Regions from separate parts of the Homo sapiens genome. Here regions 2, 3, 4, 5, 6 and 7 are each linked to region 1. Evidence: promoter capture Hi-C in 16 types of primary human blood cells and fetal thymus (Javierre and others, 2016). All regions are on one chromosome and are shown on one strand. The core of a region is centred on a gene start or on the middle of the fragment in contact, and the rest is flanking DNA. Distances in the headings are between cores, read along the strand shown.

Region 1 (3,370 bases), core at 485-2,984:
TGAATATGATTTTGATCTCTAGTTCATTTCACAAAAATGATATTTCACTATATTACTGCAGTCTGGATGCACCTACTTCTCTCAGTCCTTTTTAGTTTGTACCCTTTCTAAGAATGTAAAAATATCCCAAAGTTTGTGAGCTTCACAAGGACAAAAACTGTGTCCCAATCATCTTGGTATTCCCTTGGACATGTATAGCAGAAATTAGGGCTCAGTAAATAGCTACTGAATTGAACAAAATCCCCAGGTCCTTCCCTATCTCTCCTTCGCACACTTCCTATTGCACTAGTGTTATCTTCTGAGTGGTGGCTCCTATTTGCCTTGGTCCATCCAGGACTTCTTTTGGGTTGAAACATTAAGAAAATTAGTATATTTATACTTTTTTGGCATCTCCCGTTTTTGAACAAGACTGGTTAAATGAAAATCATTTACCCATATATTAATATGGGTAAGCAAATATAGGTTCAAAAAGAAAAAGAGATGACTTCAAAAACAGTCATCTCTTTAAAAATCGAAACATCAAAAGGTTAACATAAATTAATTTCCACAATAACAACACATTCAAATGTAGTTAGGTTGAAGCTATATGTGTAAATTCATTCTTGGCACAGAATTCGATCTCCCTTCTTTTATGAATAACATCAGCTTGTAACTCCTGACCAATTTGGCAATGTATCTAAATTACGCATAATTAAAACTGTCCATAGGGCAGGCGAGGTTCCAAAGGTATGATTAAATGATTTGTAAGTATTAATATATCATAAAACAGTCAGTTGTACACCTTCCCACTGAGTCTCACGTATTTATAAATGTAGGGAGTTTTCTAGATTGTGCTGACTCACAGGAAGATAGCTGGAGTATTTTTCAAAGGTTAGGAAAAGATCTCCAAGCTGAGCTTGAAATTCAGCTCTGACACCCCGACACTCAACTCCATTCATGAACCTGATGCCTCCCTAATCGAGCAGCACCAAGCAGTTATCAGAGGCTGAGCAACAGGGGAGCTTCGATGGCCCCCATCCAAAGAAGTTCACATATTATCACAGATGTTGCACCGGGGTGGCCTCCTTTACTTTTCCCCGTAAGGTCAACCCGGGAGGAGGGGACGGTTGGGGAGGTGTAATCTCCCCTTTTACGGATGATTCTCAAGGGCGGAGACAGGAACTGTCCCAGGTTATGACCATTGGCAGCTACGGAACAAGGAAGGAGCTGGAGCCCTTCCTCCTGGGCTCTCAGCCCGGCCCCAGGCACCCCGGATCTTGCACATCCCTGGCATGAGAGATGGCCCCCTTCCAAGAGCGGTGGCCCCGGAGGCCCCAGCCCCTCCAGCAGCCCGACTCCCTCTCCCGACCCCCGCCCAGGCCGCGCCGCCCACTCTCGCACATGCGCACCTCTGGAAGGCCCCTGAATCCAGGGCCGCACGCAGGACCCAGCCAATGAGCGGGACCCCCGCCAGGTGCTTAATGTTCTTCAGGGGGATGCCTTTGCTGCCTCCCCGGGCCAGAATTAGGGCTGCCAGGTGCGGGGGCTTCTCCACACCTCGGCCCTGGCCGCCGCGAGAGTTGCGCTGCAGCTTCGGCGGCCGGCCCCGGGACGGTCGCCCCCGCGGGTTGGAGACGGAGGTGGCGGCCCCCTTCTCCACCGAGTCCATCTTCCTCCCACGCCTTCTCCCCAGCTTCTCCACATCCGGGAGCTAGTCCCTCACCACCTCAGCTCGGCGCCGCCCGATCCCCGCCTGGCAGCTGGCGCGCGCGGCCGTCCCTCGCCCCGCCCCCTCCCCCGCCCCTCGCGGTGCTCGCTGGGAATTGTAGTCCGCGGCCGCCTCGTCTGGGGCCAGTAGGCCAAGTAGGCTCTGATGAGGTGACCCCAAAACTAAGTCAAGCAGTGGGAGTCCAGAGATATTTGGAGGAAGTGCGGCTTTTGGGGTGCTTGCAAGTGTCTGTAAATTTCTAAAATTAAAAAAGAAAAAAAGTATTTATAATTGCTGAAGAACTTCCCCACTTTAGAATTGTGGTGGGTTTCCCGTTGCATACCTTGATGCACCCTGACACGAATCCATTTTATATTTTAAAATGTACATTTTAAACATACACCTTTTTTTAATGCCCCTGGGTCATTTTTTCCAAGAAATTACTGACCAGCTCATTCAAATATCCTACAGGCGCCTTAAACTCAACGTTTTAAAAACTCCATTTTTCATATGCTCTCCGCACTTTGATCGACATCAGCATTCCCTAGCAGCAGAAATTTGGAAGTCAGCTTTACTGGTCACCTCTAGTGTGGCCGACACTTGGTTTTTTGGTTTTGTTTTGTTGTCTGCTAAAAATCTTTTCCTTTTAGGAATTGATCCCTCTCTCATCCGGTGAGGGTTTCCCTCACATTCTCTGCACTGTGTGTGACCCAAGCTGGTCCATCTACGCACCCCATTTTCCTTAACACACCTGTGGTCTAGGGACAGGCATATGACCAAGCAGAGCCCACTGGAGTCCTTTCCAGAGAGTCTTGGAAAGAAAGGATCTTTCTCGTGCTGACTGGGTGCTAAGGACCTTGTTAACCTGAAGCCTCAGGGCAAGGGTAGGGTAGGGCGGCAGGGGGGCTTTGCTGTTCTGAAATGGGCTGGAAGACTGATGTTCTCCCTGAGGAAGCAGAACAATGACATGTAGGGATTAAAGAGAAAGAATTCTGGAGGCATCATTTAAACTCTTTTTTTTTTTTGAGACAGATTCTCACTGTGTCCCCCAGAAGGCTGGAGTGCAGTGGCACAATCTCGGCTCGCTGCAACCCTCTGCCACCCATTCTCAAGCGTCCTGAGTAGCTGGGATTACAGAGGGGCACCACCACACCCAGATAATTTTTGTATTTTTAGTTGAGTTGGGGGTTTCACCAGGTTGGCCAGGCTGGTCTTGAACTCCTGACCTCAAGTGATCTGCCCGCCTCAGCCTCTCAAAGTGCTGGGATTATAGGCATGAGCCGCCACGCCTGAGCATTTAAACCCTGATCCAGCCAAGAGGCTCAAAGACATACACCCACACACACCTCTCTTAGGAAAAAAAAAAAAAGAGACTTTAAAGCAGGCATCTCTGACCTAGCATGCATTTTGTCTTTCAGCATGTTTGCAAGCCTATATTTGGAAGTAGAGTCTTTTACATTTCTGAGATGGAGGCTGATACAAACAGAAAGAATGGATTGTAGTGTGTCGGCTTGCCTTCTCCCAGAGGGCAAAAGGATTTTGTACTTCTCAGGTCTTGGCCATTTTTGAGGGGAGAGAAGAAGTCTTTGATGTTTTGGGTCCTATGAGAGGTACTGGATACTTTACATCTCTTAGTCTGTGAATTAACTGAGGGCCCAGCCCTTCCTGGGACTGGTGCTGGAA
Region 2 (3,370 bases), core at 315-2,814, 410 kb before region 1:
TTTAGTTTCACAAAGTCTTGATACCACCAGAGGGAGCTGTTGATATCGAAGTCTTCGAATGAAGAAGTTGGTGGTGAGAGTTAAGACTAGGGAGCAGCTTATGCTGATCTGTGAAGCATAATCATTATCTTGTCTGTAATTTGTAATCTTATAGACTCTTCCCCACAGCAAACATTTTCCTTCCATGTTTCATTTCAGATATTCTTCCCAACACATTGACCCTTTTCTCTGCCTAGTCTCACATCCTGCTTTCATCATACTCACATTCGTTACTATGTTTATATTTTCTTGTGACTATAAAGTTTCTGAAACTCTTTTTGTGTTACAGTAAGCAAGTAGTCTCCTTTGGCATGGTATTTATGAACTGAGCTAGTTTTCATTTATCAATAGAAACTGCATTTTAAACCTAGATGCTTTTATTTGGTTTGCTTTTGCAATGAAGCCATAAAGATTTCCTCCTATTCTTCTGGCTTATAGAGGTATTAACAAATAACAAAGAAGAGGTACTGGCTTGTACTTAGCATCTGAGCTAATGTTGTTCATATTGTCTTATTAGAACACCTGGAGAGTGCAAGTTCTAACTCAGGTATACCAGCTGCACAGAGAGGTGAGTTTGTCTAATTAAGCAAATAGTCACCAAAGGTGTAAAATTCTAGTTTGGTGGTGCATAAAATTATAGACATTGAAGAAAATGCACTGGACAATATGGAATAGACACCAAAATCTGGCTTTTTTTTTTTTGTAGGTAGAATATGTTCTTTTAAAAGCATCAATTAAACTAATATTTAAATTTTTTAGTATGTTAATGGTTTCCCAGTTTCTAAGCATAAAATTTTAGCTCCTTAAAATTTTTTTTCCAGCTTAGCAGTAGTAAAAGTTATTGTTTTTAAAAGGGGGAACTTGTGAGGCTCACACCTGCCCTGACCCCATATTATCAGAGGCTTTGTTGCCCAAAATCAGACATGGAAACAAAACATTAACAAAAATGGCCCTTTGGTTTTCCTCTTACTGATTGTAGAAAGAAGATACTTTAATAACAGATAAGTCAACTACTAACTTTTAAAAATATATTCTTCAACATTTGATTCTCTTTTTTTAAAATTTTAGGGTAAAACTAGGGAAATGAATTATTCACAAAGCTTTGATTATAAAATAAAATAGAAACAACTGAAATATTGTAAATTAAGAAGAATAGGAAATAAAGTTAGTTAAAGCACAGTATGTGGTCCTTTCATTGATATTTATGTTAGACCCCACTCAGGCTCTCCCTAGGAGACCACACAACTATGACATCACCAGAAATGCTCAGCCTGCTAACTGAGAACTTGGTTTTGGACAAATCAGTGTCTAAAGCTTGACTCTTTACTATCTCTCTTATCTGACTTGAAAAGGACCATTCTTTTTCTGAGTTACAGTTAAATTACATCATCGAAAGGAGTGTTAAGACGAGTAAGAGACATCATCCATATTTTTTTCTTTGTTTTTTTCTTTTGTTTTCTGTCTGTGTTTTCAGCAACGTCAGTTGATTACAGTTCCTTTGCAGACAGATGCAGCAGCTGGATAGAGCTCATTAAACTGAAAGCTCAGACCATAAGGCGTGGATCAATTAAGACAAGTAGGCGGATGTTTCTACCACATTATGATAATCTGAGAAACATATCCCTGATTTCCCAGTGGTGAAAGCTAGACCTTACTACCCAGTAATAACATTGCCAATCCATCATGTATTAGAGTGTGAAAGCTGCAGACTGTAACGGTCATTTAGGAAAAGCTTTTGAAAGGCCTTTAGATTTATTAGTTTTACCTATAGAATTGTGTTTTTAAAATTTTCCTTTTTGTGCAGGTATTCTTAAAAGTATATAAATAGATATTATATCATTCTAATTGGAAGTAAATTGCCAACTCTCTTATTGAAAAGACATTCTTCCAGGACCCAAGGTACTATTTAGTATGTGGCATCTGTCGGTTTATTAAGTGTGATATGCAGAGGGCTAAACTAATAAAGAATTTATGGTGAGAAAGTAGTTATTACCTTACTGCTAGAATCAGAATCATTACTTATATGTTATCTTATGCCATGTGTTTTGGTAAATTTTGAGGTAAATATATTTGAGTGAAAGAGCTTACCGTACATTAAAAGGGGGAAAAAACTACATTTCACAGGAAATAATATAGGATGTGAAACCAGCCAGATCTGGTTCTGAATCCTAGAAGTGCCATTTTAATAGCTATGAGACCTTGGGCAAGTTACTTAACTTCTCTAACCTTCCATTTCCTCATGCATGAAATGGGGATGATGATGATAACCTGTGTTTTTGGGTGGTTGTAAGGATTAGATATATATATATATGTCTGGCTTATGGCAGTTATTTAATAAGTGGTAGCTATTATTTTTTTACTTTATAAACAACCAACTTTTAGCTAGCAGAGGTCGTTAAGCTTTTAAAATTATGAGTTGGTTTTCAAAAAGGTTTGGAAAAAACCAGTATCTTACAACTAGATAACATAAGGTTTATCTACAAGTTGACAATGATGAAGTCGTCTGAAAAAGATGGAAAAATTGCACTGGGAAATAGAACAACTTTCACACTCTCCTTGTAATAATTTGTTCCTACAGCAGATAATTTTAATGCTCAGCCGCTTTTTCTTTTTCTTCACTTTATAACCAATCATTGTGTGTGTAGCTATACTGCATCAACATTTTCTTTTGCAGGAATGCCATTTTTCTTCCAAAAGAATTCCATTCCAGCATTTCCTCTCATGTTTTTCTGTCTCTCTTTTTTAATTGCATGCAGTGCATGATAATTTCTTTTCTTTCATGACATGGCTTAGCCTCACAGACAGCTGAATGTTGTCACCACTTATTTGGAAACCTCAGGGAATAATTGTGTTACCAGCGTCTGTTCTGAATGTTTTCTCATTTTTCTCCAATTTTAGCCATGACAGTTGAAAAAGCAAGTCCAGTGGGTGATGGAAATTTCCGGAATCGTTCTGCTCCACCTTGTGCAAATTCCACAGTTGGGGTTGTTAAGATGACACCTCTTTCTTTTATTCCTGGAGCAAAAATAACTAAGTATCTTGGGATAATTAACATGTTTTTTATTCGAGAGACTACTTCTCTTCGGGAGGTAATTTTATAGAAGTTATTTCATTTTTTAAAAAATTTTCTCTGAAGATTTAGTAACAAAACTAAGTTTCAAATTGTTATTTTTTGCCAAAAACTTACAAATATTTATTTATATTTTAATTATCTGGATTGAGTCTAGAGTTTATTTCATTTAGCAGCGAGGATTATCACAAGAATTGTGTTAGTTTTAAACCTATTTATTGTTAGAAATCTTAGAACCTTATCATATAGTAAATAAAACAA
Region 3 (3,370 bases), core at 650-3,149, 410 kb after region 1:
GTTTCCTCATCTATAAAATAAAGATAATTATGCCACCTATGTACTATGTAAAAAGTACTTAGTACAATGTCAGGTGTACAGTAAAAGTTCAGTAAATGCTAGGTGTAGTTATACATTGCTAGGTGATAGAAGTGATATTACATGTCCTCTAGTTCAGGACTTTAATTTTAGTGAGAAAAAGTGATATTACATGTCCTCTAGTTCAGGACTTTAATTTTAGTGAGAAAAAAAATAAGGCAAAGTAGGTGAAGTAGCTATTGAAGAACTTTTAGTTAGTTAATGCCATAGCTACCACTAGAATTATGTCTTCTGATTCCCGTCCAATGTTCTATTACATTATGGCTGTTATTTTTCCCAGAACATCTTTTTAAAATTTTTCATGTTGATCTATATTGTGTACGTAAAATGAAAGAGAATTAAACCATGCTCACTAGACATGATTATGCAGATTTCATAATTTTCATCAAAATTGTAAAAATATCCAATTACCCTAACTTGCCAGAAGTTGTGGACTAATAGGGGATCTTATTTGGCTTTAAATAGCTTTTCCCTTCATATCTGTTTCAGTCATAGTAGATTCTACCCCACACTTTTGCTCCTATTTCCAGAGTCTACAATGTACTCCTCCAAAGGTCTCCAAGAAACATATAACTTAGGTTTTAAGGTCCAATTCAAAGGCCCATTTTGTGTAGTTCTTTCTGATACTCTTCTCCTTTAAATTAAGTAGACCCTTATTTATAATTTTTACCCCACTTTCATAATTATGCTTTATTTGGGTCTTATTCTAGGATTTTTTTTCTTTACTGTAGAATAAAGGAGCATATATTAGAAAAATATGGAGGAGAAAAGTTAAACATTCCTCAAACCAAAAGTTTAGCATAGTCCCCAACTAGAATCCCTGTGATTTCACACACCTAGAGAGAAGCAAAGAATTTTATTTTCTCTGTAACTATGACACAGCAATTCTGCTTTGCACTAAAATTCTTGAAAGTTAAAAGGTCAGACATGTTGCTATTTGAAGGCAAACGTCAGCCTTTTTGGGGAACTATACTGGAATCTACTGGAGAGTCACTTATTGGAGCAGTTCCAGTTGGTATTCAGTAATTTGCATCATAGGTGAAATTGCACTAAAAGAAGAAAATATTTTTTAAAATAATGTAAGAAATAACTGCAATGTCTTTTTTTTTTTTTTTAAACAGTGGCTGTGTGGAGTGGTGTGAATGTGGCAGGTGTTTCTCTCCAGGAATTGAATCCAGAAATGGGAACTGACAATGATAGTGAAAATTGGAAGGAAGTGCATAAGATGGTGGTTGAAAGGTAAGTGAAAGGGAACTTGATTTTAGATGATTAATTTCAACTCTACTTAAATAAAATTATAAACATTTTCCATGGCTGTCTGCTCAGATAAACTCTTAATGTAGTAATTATGCAGCTGTTATCTTTTGAAACTGATAAGACTTTTACACTGGTCAAACTTGCTATGCCAGTCTCCCTAGGGAAAGTAAATATTTTCTCTAGAGAAACTCTATTGTAGAGGTAACAGGAGCAAAATGTGGAATTAACAAGTGAGAAGAGTCTTCAAATTGCCACCTCTCAACAAATAAGGTTGATTTATTTAGAAAAGTAAACTTAGAAACTATTGGTTTCATAATTGCCCCAAATAAATAAACTTGCTTGCTGATTGCTAACAGTGTTTAAGTTTTAATAACAGGACTAACTGATGTCTCAAATATAGAATCATTTTGTTCAATTTTAGTAATTTTTTTTTCAGGAATTTGAACTATATGTGGAGAAAAGGAACCTTAAAAAAGTTGAAAGAGTCTTTATAATTTCAATTAACATATACCTTTATTTTACAAGTGAGAAAACTATGGCTCACCCAGATAGTGTAACTGGTCCAAGGTCTTCTAATGATTGGGTGTCAATTGCATTAAATCCTAATTTTCCAATACTCAGCTAGAGTTATTCCTGCTGCTTCTCAAGTGCCAGGGCCTTTATGGGTTTTAAGAGCTACAATTTGTGCTGAAAAAACTGTCAGGCAAGATACTCTTATCCCTTTTATTAGTTAGTTGATTATGTTAGGTGACAGTGGCAAGTGGGACCTCACAATTGAGATATATTTTGTTCTTTCACTTTTATTGTTTCCTGATTTTATGTGTTTGGAAATATGTTTACAGATTTGTTACAATGATTGGAAAATGTATATTTTTGCCACAGTGACTTTATAAATCTTAACTTATACAATAAACTAAAGTTATCAAGCATTTATATAGTGTTTACTGTGTAGTGCTTACAGTTTTAAGCATTTTACATATATATTAATTCATTTAACACTCAAAAAGGGAACACTAAGGCAATAAAGGGTAAATAATTTGCCCAAGATTATAGTTAGAGACAGAGCAGTAGTCAAAGTCAGGTCTGGTTTCAATAATGATTGAGTCTTATTTCAGTGATGTCTTTTATAATTTTTTTAAGTGCCTATGAAGTCATCAAGCTAAAAGGATATACCAACTGGGCTATTGGATTAAGTGTGGCTGATCTTATTGAATCCATGTTGAAAAATCTATCCAGGATTCATCCCGTGTCAACAATGGTAAAGGTAAGACAAACTACCACAAAATGTAATATGATTTCTCGCATTGTATTCTACAAAAAGATTCATTTAAAGAGGCTCAGACCAGATAAAATCATAGTTCAAGGTTATTTCTGTCTCTCAAAGTTTTATGTAAACTATTCTCATTTTCCAACAGAAGTCTTGGACAGCAAGGGCAGAAAACTTAGAGAATCTAAGACATTCAATAGATTGTTGTCATTCTTTATATAATTTTGCAAATTAAATATTAACTCTGAATCTTAGCACATTCTTAAAGTATTGATCATTTGAATAAGTGTAATAGAGTTTCATTTAAAGTTGATGTACTAAACTCTAGATTGCCTTTCATATAGCACTTGATACCTTAGCAAATACAGTTTAATTCAAAAGCTATGGAGCAAATGCACAAAACAGGTAGAAATTAATGATTTTTTAAACAAAACTAAAATTATATTAAAATATTTTGTAAGACAACTGACTCATTTTCCACAAGTCAGTGTAAATCAAGTGTGTCAATAATTGGGTAATTACTGAGTCTTTGGGTACATACATAGGAATTTGTTTATTCTATCTACTTTTGTGTATGTACAAAATTTTTGAAATTAAAAGTTTAAAAACTGACATTAAGGTATGTTTAATATAATTAGTTATATAGTTAAATTGACCCTGTGAATAAATTACCCACACGAACTGGTAAAGTGTTTTGGAAATTGTATTTTTTTTTTTTTTTTTAGCAATTCTTGGGTATTCCAAGCATCTTGCCTTTTAATGGTCTCT
Region 4 (3,370 bases), core at 328-2,827, 370 kb before region 1:
GATTGCTAGGATTACAGGCGTAAGCAACCACCCCTGACCAGAATTCCTCCTTTATAAAGCCTCAAGTCAATGTCTAAAAAATTGGGGGGGCAATTCCATGATTCACCAGATAACCCATATAGATGCATACTATCTATCTAAAAATACCCATTTTTACGCCAATTAATCTTTGGGGCCTTCAGTTTGCTATACGTCTACCTGTACTGTGTTTCAGGAGGCTCTATCTTGGATACAGTGACCTTCTGCACATCAGTGAAAGGACTGAAACTAGAAGAAGCAAAATTGGGATCCATGTCTACTTTGCTTCCCATATGTTATTCTGTTACCTCAAGTATCTGACTCCATTGTAGTTAATTGCTTCCTGTTTCTTTCCCTAGGTTATGAGATCCTCCACAGAGAACTGAGTAAGAACAATGATGTACATTATTAACTAAAATTATCACATCTTGCTTTATTATTTATTTGTTTTTTTAACCATCCTAGAATAGATAATGTATTGTAGTTTGTTGCCTCGGGAAAGATTTGATTTTGGTTACGTGACACAGAGAGAAGCCGGCTTAAACTTCCCTTGGATTCTTTCTATACTTGGCTTGGTTCTAAAGAGCCACACAGCTGTGGGAATCTTGCAAGCATAATTTCAATTCTACTTTCAGGTCAGAATCAAAGAAGGATTAGAAAGGAGTCCATTTCAAACTTTATAGACCACTTCAGGAATACTTATTCTATCCTACCAGTTCTGAATGTATTAAATTTATTAAAAACTGCTAAGTTCCCTGCCTAATTTTTTGTTAATATTATAATCAAATGTGCTTAGTTATTGGTGTCTCTGCAACCACTGAAAATGCCATGCACTTATGAACAGAATATATTTTCTCATTTGAAATGGCAAAGCCCCAGAGGTTCTAATAGCCACCCTCTTCCAGATACATTATTCATTGTAAACTAGCTTTCTAGAATCCTAGATTATGGAGAACTAAGTATCTTTTATATTTTAAACCACGTGTATGCTAATGTATATAATGAGCGTTTCAAACAATCTTTTTGCTCCTGGTCAACTTTTTTTTTTTTTTTTTTTTTTTTTAAATAATAAAGGCGGCCGGGCGTGGAGGCTCACGCCTGTAATCCCAGCACTTTGGCAGGCCAAGGCGGGTGGGTCAGCTGAGGTCAGGAGTTTGAGACCAGCCTGGCCAATATGGCGAAACCCTGTCTCTACTAAAAATACAAAAATTAGCTGGGTGTGGTGGCACATGCCTGTAATCCCAGCTATTCAGGAGGCGGAGGCACGAGAATCGCTTGAACAAGGAGGTGGAGGTTGCAGTGAGCCGAGATTGCCTCACTGCACTCCAGCCAGGGTGACAGAGCGAGACTCTATCTCAAAATAGTAATAATAATAATAATAATAATAATAATATAGGCACTGAACATTTTCGAAAAAGCTTAAGAAATAAGAAAAACAAGTTAGGGAAGTTTAACTGACAAAGCATTTAACACAATTCATTATAAGATGAATGACAAACAAGTAAAATGGAACATGAATAAGAGATTTATTTAGTGCATCAACTGTTAAAATGCAAGTCTTTATGGCTTATGCTTCTGTATAGACGCTAGGCCCGAAATGGAGGTCTATTTCCCACTTAAGAGCATGAAAAACACCACTTATCAACTGCAGGGAACAGTTTTGAGATTAGATGCTAGGCATCGCACAAATGGAAGCTTTTCAAAACACAACATACAGAATTACATGTTGGGAGGGGGTTCAGGAGGTCACCCAGATCAGTCGTCTCTCTATTAAATTTGTCCCTTGTTAAAATTTTTAGGGAAGGATATTCCAAAACCGGTCTGAGGTTTAAGTGTCCAAAGACCATGAGAAATCTTAAAATTTTATCACACATTGACTATAGAGAAAAGTTTTTAAAAAGTCCACAACAAAGCAGATACAATTGTATAGAAACATCTAGATAATAGAGCTCCCCAGATCAAGCCCCCTCTATTAACCCCACCACCCCGTGTTTTCTCATTACATTTAGACTGAAATTAAAATCCTGCAAGATCCTATAGGAATTAGCCCCTGACTCCTTCTCTGACCTCAGCATCTTCCACTCTCTCCCAGTGTCCCGGTTTCCTCTGTTTCAAACACTGTACGGTAGCAATAATGTGTCTCTTGTTCATCACTGCACATCTACAAAATATCTTCACAGCAACACCTAGATTGGTATTTGGTTGGATATCCCTCATGTTTTAACTGTTTAATAAATATTTCTACAAATCTACAAAAGAGTAAAAAGTTATATATATATTTGTATGGATATATATGTGTATAATTATTTTAATAGTGGTGTTTTATCTGCTTCAAAGTTCGTTTATATGTTTTTTCCCTTTCAGCTCTATCTTGTTACCTAGTTTCTTGAAACTCCCATATGCTTGCTATTAGATTACTAGGACACTAGCAACGGATAGAAGTCATTGACAAAATAGATGAATCACTCAGTGTGGCTTGGTACTGGCATTGAAAAAATAGATTGGCACAGCAATAGATGGGAAGAATGTGTTTATTGCTGTAGGAAAATACCTGGAAATACCAGTTTCTCCAGTCAGAGAAGTCAGACTCCAAGTGAGTATTTCACCACAGTCTTTCTAGAAGCAAGGTAATACAAGTATACAGATGCAAAATGGAATGACTCAGCTAGCCAAGATTCAATTAGCGTTAAAGCATAGAAGCCGCATTTAGGGGAAACTGTGAATGATAGACAACAGCTCCAAATCAGAGCAAAATGATATGTCCTTAGACCGAAAAGTTTCTTGTCTTTTTTTTTTTTTTTTTTTTTTTGATCCAGAGTGTCGCTCTGTCGCCCAGGCTGGAGTGCAGTGGCGCGATCTCGGCTCACTGCAAGCTCGGCCTCCCAGATTCACGACATTCTCCTGCCTCAGCCTCCCGAGTAGATGGGACTACAGGCACCCGCCACCACGCCTCGCTAATTTTTTGTATTTTTAGTAGAGACGGGGTTTCACCGTGTTAGCCAGGGTGGTCTCGGATCTCCTGACCTCGTGATCTGCCCGCCTCGGCCTCCCAAAGTGCTGTGATTACAGGCGTGAGCCACCGCGCCCAGCCAGTTTCTTGTCTTTCTAAGCCTCATTTGAGCCAGGGTAGTGATAGCACTTTCCATCATGGCACCACCTTAGGAGAGCAGAAACTCCGGGCTAATGTGCCACCGACAGAAAGAATAGTCAACATGTGCATTCAGATTCTGTTCATGCTACTGCTTTGAACCAAAGTCATTTTCTAGGTTGAATGAAAACGACCTTACCTGCCTCGTCCTAGCTCTAATTCCAGCAAATGCCACAAGCGGAGTATTGGCCACCCAGGCTGAGC
Region 5 (3,370 bases), core at 465-2,964, 350 kb after region 1:
GCTTGAGTGTGTGGTATGTGTGTGTATGTGTCTATCTCCAAAGATAATATTATTTATTAAACCACTGTCCCACTCCCGTGAGCACTGATGTCCTAAGAATCCCACCCCTGCTATTGATACGGAAGTGGGGAAGGGAAGTGCTGGGAAGGGAAGTGCTGGTGTGGGCCCTTTAAATGATACGGAAATAGGGAAGGGCGTGGTCCCTGACTAGGACTCCACCACCTGCCTTGTGACCAGGGACCTAGGTGAGGACAGGCATTTTTGTTTTCCTGCCCAAATGTTGCATTTTTCAAGACCACCCTGGCGTGCCACTCCCCCATCCTATGCCTATGAAAACCCCCAACACCCTAACAGGCAGACACACAAACGGCTGGACATCGAGAGGAGCACATCACTGGAGGAACACGCAGGTGGCTGGACATTGAGAGGAACGCACCGACAAGCACCAGCAGGCCAACAAGCCACCAACCGACTGGCAGACTGACACGGAGTTTGGCTGGGGCAGTCGGAGGAGAGCGCCCAGGCCATCCAGCAGCCCAACTCCAGAGGAAAACCATCTTCCTTCTGGCTCCCTCATCTGCTGAGAGCTACTTCCACTCAGTAAAACCTTGCACTCATTCTTCAAGCCCACGTGTGAACCGATTCTTCAGGCACACCAAGGCAAGAACCCGGGATACAGAAAGGCCTCTGTCCTTGCCACGAGGCAGAGTGTCTAATTGAGCTGATTAACACAAGCTGCCTATAGACAGCAAAACTAAGAGCCCCCAGTAGCACACACTCACTGGGGCTTCAGGAGCTGTAAAAATTCACCCCTAGACACTGCCATGGGGTCGAAGCCCCACATCCTGCCCATCTGTATGCTCCCCCAGAGATGTGAGCAGCGAAACACTGAAGAAGCTAGCCACTCCCTCTCTCGCATGCCCTGCGAAGGGGACAAGGGAACTTTTCCAGTTTCACTATGACCATGGCAAAAGCTACATACCTCAAGACTGCCCATTGAGATTAGAAAACAATACAAAATCCTGACCCTTAATCCAGCTGTCTTACTTCTAGGAATCAACCCAAAGATACATTAGTAAAAACAGAAATATACCTGCTTAATACTGGTTTTTTTTTCTTTGCAACTTTTATTTTAGGTTCGGGGGGGTACGTGTGCAGGTTTGTTACATGGCTAAATTGTGTGTCATGGGATTTCTTAGTCACCCAGATAATAAGCATAGGACTTGATAGGTAGTTTTTTGGTCCTCACCCTCCTCCTACCCTCCACCACCAAGTAGGTCTTGGTGTCTATGGTTCTCTTCTTTGCGTCCATGTGTACTCAGTGTTTATCTCCCAGGTGAGAGAATATGCAGTATTTACTTTTCTGCTCCTGCATTAATTTGCTTAGGATAATGGCCTCCAACTCCATCGTGTTACTGTAAAGGGCATGATTTCCTTCTTTTTATGGCTACATAGTATTCCATGGTATATACATACCACATTTTCTCTATCCAGTCCATCATTGATGGGCATTTAGGCTGGTTTCACATCTTTGCTATTGTAAATAGTGCTACGATGAACACATGCGTGTATGTGTCTTTATGGTAGTTTGGGTATATACCTAGTAACGGGATTGCTGGGTTGAATGGTAGTTCTGTTTTAAGTCCTGTGAAAAATCTCCAAACTGACTTCCACAGAGGATGAACTAATTTACATTCCTACCAGCGGTGTGTAAGTGCTCCCTTTTCTCCACAACCTCACATGCATCGGTTATTTTTTGACCTTTTAATAATAGCCATTCCGATTGGTGTGAGATAGTATCTCATTATGGTTTTGGTTTGCGTTTTTCTAACGATTAGTAATGTTGAGCTTCTTTTCATGTGTTTGTTGGCTACATGTATGTCTTCTTTTGAGAAGTGTCTTCATATCCTTTGTCCATTTTTTAATGGGGTTGTTTGGTTTTTGCTTGTTAATTTGTCTAAGTTCCTTATAGATTATGTATATTAGACCTTTGTTGGGTGCATAGTTTGCAAATATTTTCCCCCATTATGTATGTAGGTTTTCTGTTTACTCTGTTAATAGTTTCTTTCAACTATGCAGAAGCTCTTTAGTTTAATTAGGTACCATTTGTCGAGTTTTATTGTTGCTGCAATTGCTTTTGAAGTCTTCATCATGAAATCTTTGCCAGGGCCTATGTCCAGAATGGGATTTCCTAGGGTTTCTTCTAAAATTTTTATAGTTTTGGGTTTTACATGGAAGTCTTTAATTCATCTTGAGTTGATTTTTGTATATGGTGAAAGTAAGGGGTCCAGTTTAAATCTTCTGCATATGGCAAGCCAGTTATCCCAGCCCCATTTATTAAATAAGGAGTTCTTTCCCCATTGCTTGTTTTTTGTCAATTTTGTTGAAGATCAGATAGTTGTACATGTGTGGTTTTACTTCTGGGTTCTCTAACCTGTTCCCTTAGTCGATGTGTCTGTTTTTGTACCAGCACTATGCTGTTTTGGCTACAATAGCCTTGTAGTATAGTTTGAAATTGGGTATTAAAGTGCCTCTAGCTTTGCTTTTTTGCTTAGGGTTGCCATGGCTATTCAGGCTTTTTTTTTTTTTTTTTTGGTTCTACATGAATTTTAGAATACTTTTTTCTAATTCTGTGAAAAAATATCATTGAGGTAGTTTGATAAGAATAGCATTGAATCTGCACATTGCTTTGGGCAGCGTGGCCAATCTAACAATACTAATTCTTCCTATCCATGAACATGGAATATTTTTCCATTTGTTAGTGTCACCCCTAATTTCTTCCAGCAGTGTTTTTTAATTCTCATTGTAGAGATTGTTCACCTTCCTGGTTAGCTGTATTTCTATATATGTTATTATTTTTTTGGCTACTGTGAATAGGAATAAGTTTTTTTATTTGGCTCTCAGCTTGGATGTTCCTGGCGTATAGGAGTGCTAGCGATTTTCGTGCATTGATTTTGTATCCTGAAACTTTGCTGAAGTTGTTTATCAGATCTGGGAGTTTTGGGGAAGAGACTATGGGATTTTCTAGGTATAGAATCATATCATCTGCAAAGATAGTTTGACCTCCTTTCTTCCTATTTGGATGCCTTTTATTTCTTTCTCTTCCCTGGTTGCTCTGGTTCTCAAGGGGAATACTTCCAGCTTTTGCCCATTCAGTATGATGTTGACTGTGAGTTTGTCATAGATGGCTCTTACTGTTTTGAGGTACATTCCTTCAACGCCTAGTTTGTTGTGCATTTTTAACATGAAGAGATGTTGAATTTTATTGAAAGCCTTTTTGTGTCTATTGAGATGATTGTGTAGTTTTTGCTTTTAGTTATTTTCATATAATGAATCATACTTATTGATTTGTGTGTGTTGAACCAATCTT
Region 6 (3,370 bases), core at 351-2,850, 330 kb after region 1:
AAAAAAACTGAACGGGACCCAAAAACAATAGACAGATAAGGAGGTTTAAATGAGTGAAAACTACTTTTTGTTGTTTATGTAGTAGTCTTACAAATAGATTTTAGAACAATTTTCCAGCGATAAATTTTTTAATTTTACTCAAATAAGAAAGTTGTTTAAGATATTTACTTTAATATTTTAATAAACATGGCTTTTAAAGGGCCATCCGTGTGCTAAAAAGTATCAGAATTAAAATATTTGCTTGAGGTTTACTAATGACAAAAATCTCGTGTCAGTATTTTAAAGAAAGGTAACAGATTAATAATACAGAAGCTGTGAGAGCTACTTTGGAAAGTCTCTTCTTAAAATGTCCTTTTAGAAGTAAGTTACCATCAGTTGAACACCCTACCTTTTACACCATTAGACTAGTGCATAGCCTGGAAGTTAGTTATCTTCCAGCATGGGAGGAGTGTTAGTCCAATTGAGAAGAATATACTAAATGCTATCAACTATTTTTGTTATTGCATCTCAAAGAATATTAAGGTTTAGTGCAATTCTATGCAGAATCCCAAGCAGACATGTTTAACTTGGCAAATAACTCTAAACTTCTGTAAGATAAAATGAGCAAGACAAACAAGTAGATTTTTGTGAGGAACAAAATCATAACATGAGGAATTTGTCTTACTAGATGTTAAAATTTACTATAAAGGTACAACAATCAAAACTGTGAAACTTAAACAGGAATGAATAGATCAAAGGAGTATAATCAAGACCCCAAGAATGCTCACATACAAAAAACTAGTATATGCTACATGTATGATCAGTAAGAAAATACATAATCAGCAAAAAAAAATGCATAATACATAAGAAAATAGCTGATAAGCAGAAAAAGAACTATTCCATAATGATCCTGGAAAATGTATCAATTATTTGAGAGTAAAAAAACAAATAATTCCAAGTGTATCATAAAGTTAAAAATTAAAAATTTGGGGGATTCCTCTTTCAGTTTTGGAGCCCCCCCTCTCTGTCTCTGCACGGGGGAGCTTCTTCCTCCTGCCTTCTCCCTTGTTTTTTGTCTACTAAACTCTCTACTCCTTAAAACCAAAATAAATAAATAAATAAATAAAAATTCAAAGCAGAAAAATAAAAACCAGGAGAAAATATAAACAAACATTTTCAAAGCTTTATATGGAAAAGTTAAGCTTTAAGAAATGGAAAACTCACAAAGAAAACAATTACTAGATTTAATTATTTGTAAATACTATCAAGAACTGCCAGTATCAAAATTAAAGGTAAACTCTAAAATGGAAAAATACTTCCAATAAATATGGATTCAGATAATGTCTTTAAGACATAATTAATTCTTATGAACCTGAGAGCAACATATCACACAACAAATTAAATTGAGAAGAATCACAAATGAGCAGTTCACCAAAGAAAAAATTTAAATGTTTATTAAACATATTAAATTGGTCATCTCCCTAAGAAACAAAGAATGTAATTAAAAATAAGACAACTTTTGCCTATAAATGGAATGAAAAGAGCGCTGTGATCTATTGGGGGAATTATAAATTGGTAAAAGTTTCCTGGGAGAAAGATACACAGATATTTGCCAAAACATTTTTAATAATAAAGTCAAAACTGAAACAACTTAAATATCTAACAATAGGGGAATAGTTAAATAAATTACGGTTAGTAAGATTATGCACTTGGATAATATTCATAATCGGTTACTTTAAAAAAAAAATCCAGTAACAAAACTGTATATTGAATAATCCAAGTTTGATATCACACTCTCACACAAATCCACATACACATTTTTGTAGAAAAAAAAACAGAAAATAGGCAAATACATTGTTTGCAATCTTTTGATCATTCAGATTTGCCTTATTGTCTTGGGATTTCTTAGAATAACTGCAAGGGGTATGTATTGTTATTTTTAGAAATTATTATTTAAAATAACATGTGCATGCAGTAACCATGCATATGTCTGATCTTCAGGAGAATTGCAGGAGATAGTCCCCATCTTCAAGAAGCTTATAGTTCCACTCACAAATGTGCATACACATGAAAGACAAATCACATGTAGATGACAAGGTATATTCAAATATCAGCCCATGGAATAATTTGTATTTTGGAAATCTGAGGCATTGTGGATTAGAGTAGTCAAGGGGGCTGAGTCTTGAAGGAAGTTAGTCTGATAAGAACAGGTAAGTGATCAAGACTTGAGAGCAGATAGGACAGGACATGACACATCCTGAAGACAATGACAAAGCATGTCTGGCAATATATCACATGTTTGTACGCTTTTGATGGGTATTTTAAAGTTAAAAGGTATCTGGAAAACCAACATAAAGGTACTACTGTACTAACACATCAGAGTATTTACAACTGTCATTTTCTTGCAGAGATTCTATAATAGCTTGCCTCTCTGAGAAAAGAGGTAAAACTCATTTTTAACAGTGACCAATGAGTTAATTAAGTGTATGAGCATTCTAAACTTTATCACAATTGTAGATAGGCAACATTTTGTCATTGTGACTACATCTCAACTCCTTAGGGACAAATAGAACTGTCCACTAACAGTGGCTGTGGTGAGCAGGGCTCATATATGTGCTATGCAGGAAAGACAGAACTTTCCCATGACCTAAAGAGACTCTGCAAAGTGACCACAGATGGTTTATACCAGAAAAGCTGGAAAAATTATATGAAGTCCTGTGAAAAACCTTAGTTTGGAAAAAAAAATAAGAGGAAGCAAATAAATAGGAGGTCACCAGCAAGCTCCAAATTAAAGGAGGTCTCTCTGAATCACCCTTTCTGAGATTTTAGCATATGGACTTCCTAAGTCACAAAGGCCTGGAGAGAAGATGAGAACCACAGTAAATTCCAAATCCCGGAGTTTTATTATCCCATTGTTACACACTAGAGAGATTTATGGAGCCGCTCCCAAAAATGTTGTAAGTGTGCTACAGAAATGGCTTGTTCTCCCTGAGCCTTTTAATAAAGAAGTAAGGCAGTGTGCCAGGAAGAGTACAGAGTGAAGAGTAGGTGACTAGAACTTCAGCTATCCTGATAATTCTCTGAGGGAAATGGCACATCATACTTAACCTCACAGGGTTTTCACTTTCATTATCTGCAATATGAAGACAGTGTTCAAAATCAAAGAGGCACAACCAGTCCTGAGCAAGCTGAGAAGATTGCTGCTCAGGAGGACTATCCAGAATGTTCAAAAATAGAAGATGCCAGCTGATTCCATACAAATTCCAAATAGTGTCAGGTACACTATAGGCCGCAGGGGAAAAGTCTAGTGTCTCTGGGCTCAGAGTTTCTAGACCAGGAGAGCTCTTGGCCTGCCACTCTCACTTTACAGAAATAATACCTGACATTTGAA
Region 7 (3,370 bases), core at 236-2,735, 330 kb before region 1:
TTTATTTGTATGTCAAGTAATGTCTGTTTAATCTTTAATCTAGGTATTTCCAAATATTCACAAACTCCTTATGCAACTATAAATAAAAACTTATTAATGTAGCCAATTAAAATTTTGAAATATTTAAACATAGATTTTATTCTTAATATTTCTATAAGTCCAATAGAGTGAATTTTTTTCGTGTTGTAAAGACTCTTAAATATGTCCATAAATGTACCCATAGAAATTTTTTAAAAATAAACAAAATTGTAAATGCACATAAAACAACACAATGATTAATTTTTTTTCATTATACTTAACCAACACTGGTTTCTAAAGTATTGATAGGATGCCTCAAAAGCTAACCTTATCTTTTGACTCTTACAGAGGAAATTGGAACTTGCAAACTAAAGTTTTCTGCTTCACTCTCATTTATCCCCCATTTGAATGCTTTTGTCAGAGTGACAAAAGCATTTTAATACTTTTTTAGTTTTAAAGAAGACATCAAGAATTTTATTGGATTTATTTTATATTATAAATTATCTATCCACTTACCAGGGTGAACTTGTTTTGTACTTCCAGTGCCTTTTAGAGATGAACAATATTACTTGAGCCTAAGGATCCATTTAAGGGTAAATTCAGTTTACTATTATGTTATTAATGTACTATAATGCCAGGTAAAGAAGTAGTAATTATCCAAGTATTTGCATGTATAATTATGCTGGTGTTTCATGCTTAAAGCTTGTTTCCTTTTTTTCTCTCGCTTTTTGGTATTATTTTTTAAGTTTCACAAGAATATTATTATTTCCCTTGTGAAGGGAGGAAGTGAAAACGTTAGAACTGTGGAAGTTTCCACTCTGAAAGAGACAGTGTTCCTCTTCAGAGTTTATGTGGCTACATAAACCAGGGTTCTGCAGCTTGAGTCAGAATCAAATTCCCAATGCTCAGTATTACTGAAGACATTATTCAAGGTCTCCAGTGAGTCTGCTAATTAATCTGGGTGGTCTCTTAACCAACCAAACATGCTTACCTGAAAACTCCAAACATCCCTAATTACAAAAACTACCAGAAACCCCAAACGACTACTTGGTTTAAAAATAGATACAGATAAAGAGGTAGATGTTGAAATATATATATATATATAGATCAGTGTTTCCCAACCTTGGCACTACTGATATTTTGAATTAATTAATTCTTTGTTGTGGAAGATTGTCCTGTGTGTTGTAGAATTTAGCAGCATTCCCGGCCTCCACCTGTTAGATGCCAGTAGCATCCTTCCCCCAGTAATCATGGCCAAAGATGTCTCTGGACATTGCCAAACCTTGAGAACAACATCTCCTTGGTTGAAAATCACTGACACGCATGTCATAATTCAAATATATGCTGTGGTATGGAGAATCAGACCTAAGCAGAAACTTTTAAAAATGCTTCCCTGACCTTGATATTGCTGATGGAGAGGGAGGAGAGGGGTCCCCTTCTCAACACAAAGCTGAAGGCCTTGAGAGAGACCAAAATGGCACCAAGTGTAGTAGAAAGCAGAAAAGCAGACTGCGCTCAGATTTGCAGACTGGTTGTTCTCTGGTTGTTTGGGATGGATAGGGATTGCTAACTTTTAGAGAGAGGTTCCAGAGAACTGCATATATAAACCTTTTATGTTAAATGCTTACATCAGCAGCATGAGGTGAGTGTACTTTTGTGGAAACTTTATGGTAGTCTTTATCTAGCTTATAAATTGATTTCAATGTTGTTTGCAACTTAACATTTATGGAGAAAGTAGTTTTTCTACATTTGAAGGACGTGAGAACCAGCATCAGAGATACTCTTAAAAGGACATTTAGACAATTTCATTTTCTGAGATAGACAGTGATGTTATAAGCTAGAACTAAGGAGAAATAATTGGCAATATTTTTGTAATGAGGGAGACTTTTAGTAATTTGTTTCATTGTGTGAGAAACTTAATTTAACTTACCAAAACAAAGTAACACATAGTTCCCAATTGACTTCAGTTTTGCTTTATAGCTACAACCATGAAAAATTATTCCACATAACAAAGATATAAAAATTTCATACACTGTCTATTTTTTTCATATTTTATTCCCCATTTATCTTTTCTTCCCTTTCTAATCCTGTCTCTCCTCTCTGTTTACACTGTATTCTTCTCTTTTACCCTGCCTTGTACTTTCATTTTTTTCCTCTGTCTAGTCCCTTGCAGTTGGTTTTCTCTTCCCTTTATAGTTTATCAAACAGCCTGCAATGGTCTTACCAAGCTTCTACATAGAGGACAGAATTGGCACAATGTTTTTGTTCTGCAACCTGAAAATTTTTAATCTTCACATCATTTTATTTGCAGATCTATATAGAAAGGGTTTGTACTAGAGAATGATTTCATGCAGAATTAAACTTTATATGGTGGAGACTACTGATTATCCATAAAAGTCTGTTTTCCACTTATGCTATACTCATAGAATTGTGGCTAGATATAAGGCAAAAGCACACTGGGTTGATAAAAACTACATGGAGAGAGAATCTAACAAGATTAAAATTTAATTTATTTAGAAATGTATGTCTGATTATATTTTAATTTTACATATAGTAAAATTTACTATTTAGTGTACCGTTCTTTGAATTGTGAAACATGCATAGAGTCATAGGATCACCACCACCCAATCAAGATACATAACAGTTTCATCATGAAAAGAACATTTCTCAATATCCCTTTGGCATCAAATCACTCTCCAGTCCCAACCTCTGACAACCACTGATCTATCCTCTCTCCCTGTAGTTCTGCCTTTTCCAAAATATTGTATAATTGGAATCATACAGCATGTAGCCTATGGTTTTTTTCACCTAACATGATGTATTTGAGATTTATTTTTGCTTGGTATCCAGTTGAGTATTTTTAAAAATTGCTGAATCATATTCCTTTTTATGGATGGACCAGAGTTTGTTTATCATCCACAAGCTAAAGAGCATTTGTGCTGTTTCCAGTTTCTGGCAGTTATAAATTAAGGTGCTATAAACATCTATGTACAGGTTTTTGTGTGAATATAAATTTGTATTTGTCTTTGATAAATAACTGGGAATGGAATTGCTGAGTCATATAGTAATTAATGTGTAGCTATATGAGAAACTGTCAAACTGTTGTCTTAAGTAACTGTGCCATTTTGCATTTCCATCAGTCATGTATGAGAGTTTTAGTTGTTTTGCATCCTTACCAGCATCTGGTATTGTTAATGGCTTTTAGTAAATGAATAAGTAAATAAATGAATAAATAAAGCTATTCTAATAGGTGTTTAGTGATAACTTCCTGTAGTTTTAAATAATTATTCATAATGAATAATGATAATGTGCATTTGTTCATGTGCTTATTTTCCATTTGTATAATTATTTT

The links. The method cuts DNA at HindIII sites, captures the fragments that hold promoters and counts their contacts. A CHiCAGO score of 5 or more calls a contact.
Region 2: a contact is called between a fragment that was not itself captured here and the fragment with the promoter of CMAS in region 1, in 15 of 17 cell types (activated CD4 T cells, erythroblasts, total CD4 T cells and 12 more). The highest score is 17.3, in activated CD4 T cells.
Region 3: a contact is called between a fragment that was not itself captured here and the fragment with the promoter of CMAS in region 1, in 1 of 17 cell types (naive CD4 T cells). The highest score is 5.3, in naive CD4 T cells.
Region 4: a fragment that was not itself captured here is called in contact with the fragment with the promoter of CMAS in region 1 in 5 of 17 cell types (naive CD8 T cells, non-activated CD4 T cells, M1 macrophages and 2 more); the score reaches 6.8 in naive CD8 T cells.
Region 5: a contact is called between a fragment that was not itself captured here and the fragment with the promoter of CMAS in region 1, in 7 of 17 cell types (non-activated CD4 T cells, naive CD8 T cells, total CD4 T cells and 4 more). The highest score is 10.9, in non-activated CD4 T cells.
Region 6: a contact is called between a fragment that was not itself captured here and the fragment with the promoter of CMAS in region 1, in 4 of 17 cell types (total CD4 T cells, M2 macrophages, naive CD4 T cells and 1 more). The highest score is 5.9, in total CD4 T cells.
Region 7: a fragment that was not itself captured here is called in contact with the fragment with the promoter of CMAS in region 1 in 6 of 17 cell types (monocytes, erythroblasts, total CD4 T cells and 3 more); the score reaches 8.3 in monocytes.

The regions. Positions count from the first base shown.
Region 1 is chr12:22,044,582-22,047,951 of GRCh38, reverse strand. It overlaps CMAS (cytidine monophosphate N-acetylneuraminic acid synthetase), which reads right to left and starts at 1,734. Exons shown (of 8, transcript NM_018686.6): 1 at 1,389-1,734. The coding sequence starts at 1,648. RefSeq lists enhancers at 602-1,307, 1,623-1,917 and silencers at 1,610-1,837, 1,481-1,850. The HindIII fragment of the contact is 10,395 bases long and covers 1-3,370 here.
Region 2 is chr12:22,456,729-22,460,098 of GRCh38, reverse strand. C2CD5 (C2 calcium dependent domain containing 5) reads left to right here. Exons shown (of 27, transcript NM_001286176.2): 23 at 557-607; 24 at 1,514-1,615; 25 at 2,938-3,128. Among named protein-coding and RNA genes, the nearest start is that of C2CD5, 86 kb to the left of the region's middle. The HindIII fragment of the contact is 418 bases long and covers 1,356-1,773 here.
Region 3 is chr12:21,636,300-21,639,669 of GRCh38, reverse strand. It overlaps LDHB (lactate dehydrogenase B), which reads left to right. Exons shown (of 8, transcript NM_002300.8): 6 at 1,200-1,317; 7 at 2,476-2,599. Among named protein-coding and RNA genes, the nearest start is that of LDHB, 20 kb to the left of the region's middle. The HindIII fragment of the contact is 3,914 bases long and covers 1-3,370 here.
Region 4 is chr12:22,409,896-22,413,265 of GRCh38, reverse strand. No RefSeq gene overlaps it. Among named protein-coding and RNA genes, the nearest start is that of ST8SIA1, 77 kb to the right of the region's middle. The HindIII fragment of the contact is 277 bases long and covers 1,439-1,715 here.
Region 5 is chr12:21,691,901-21,695,270 of GRCh38, reverse strand. All of the region lies in intron 1 of KCNJ8-AS1 (KCNJ8 antisense RNA 1), which reads right to left. Among named protein-coding and RNA genes, the nearest start is that of KCNJ8-AS1, 31 kb to the right of the region's middle. The HindIII fragment of the contact is 7,770 bases long and covers 1-3,370 here.
Region 6 is chr12:21,710,789-21,714,158 of GRCh38, reverse strand. The region is part of intron 1 of KCNJ8-AS1 (KCNJ8 antisense RNA 1); the gene reads right to left. Among named protein-coding and RNA genes, the nearest start is that of KCNJ8-AS1, 50 kb to the right of the region's middle. The HindIII fragment of the contact is 834 bases long and covers 1,184-2,017 here.
Region 7 is chr12:22,372,168-22,375,537 of GRCh38, reverse strand. No RefSeq gene overlaps it. Among named protein-coding and RNA genes, the nearest start is that of ST8SIA1, 39 kb to the right of the region's middle. The HindIII fragment of the contact is 1,526 bases long and covers 723-2,248 here.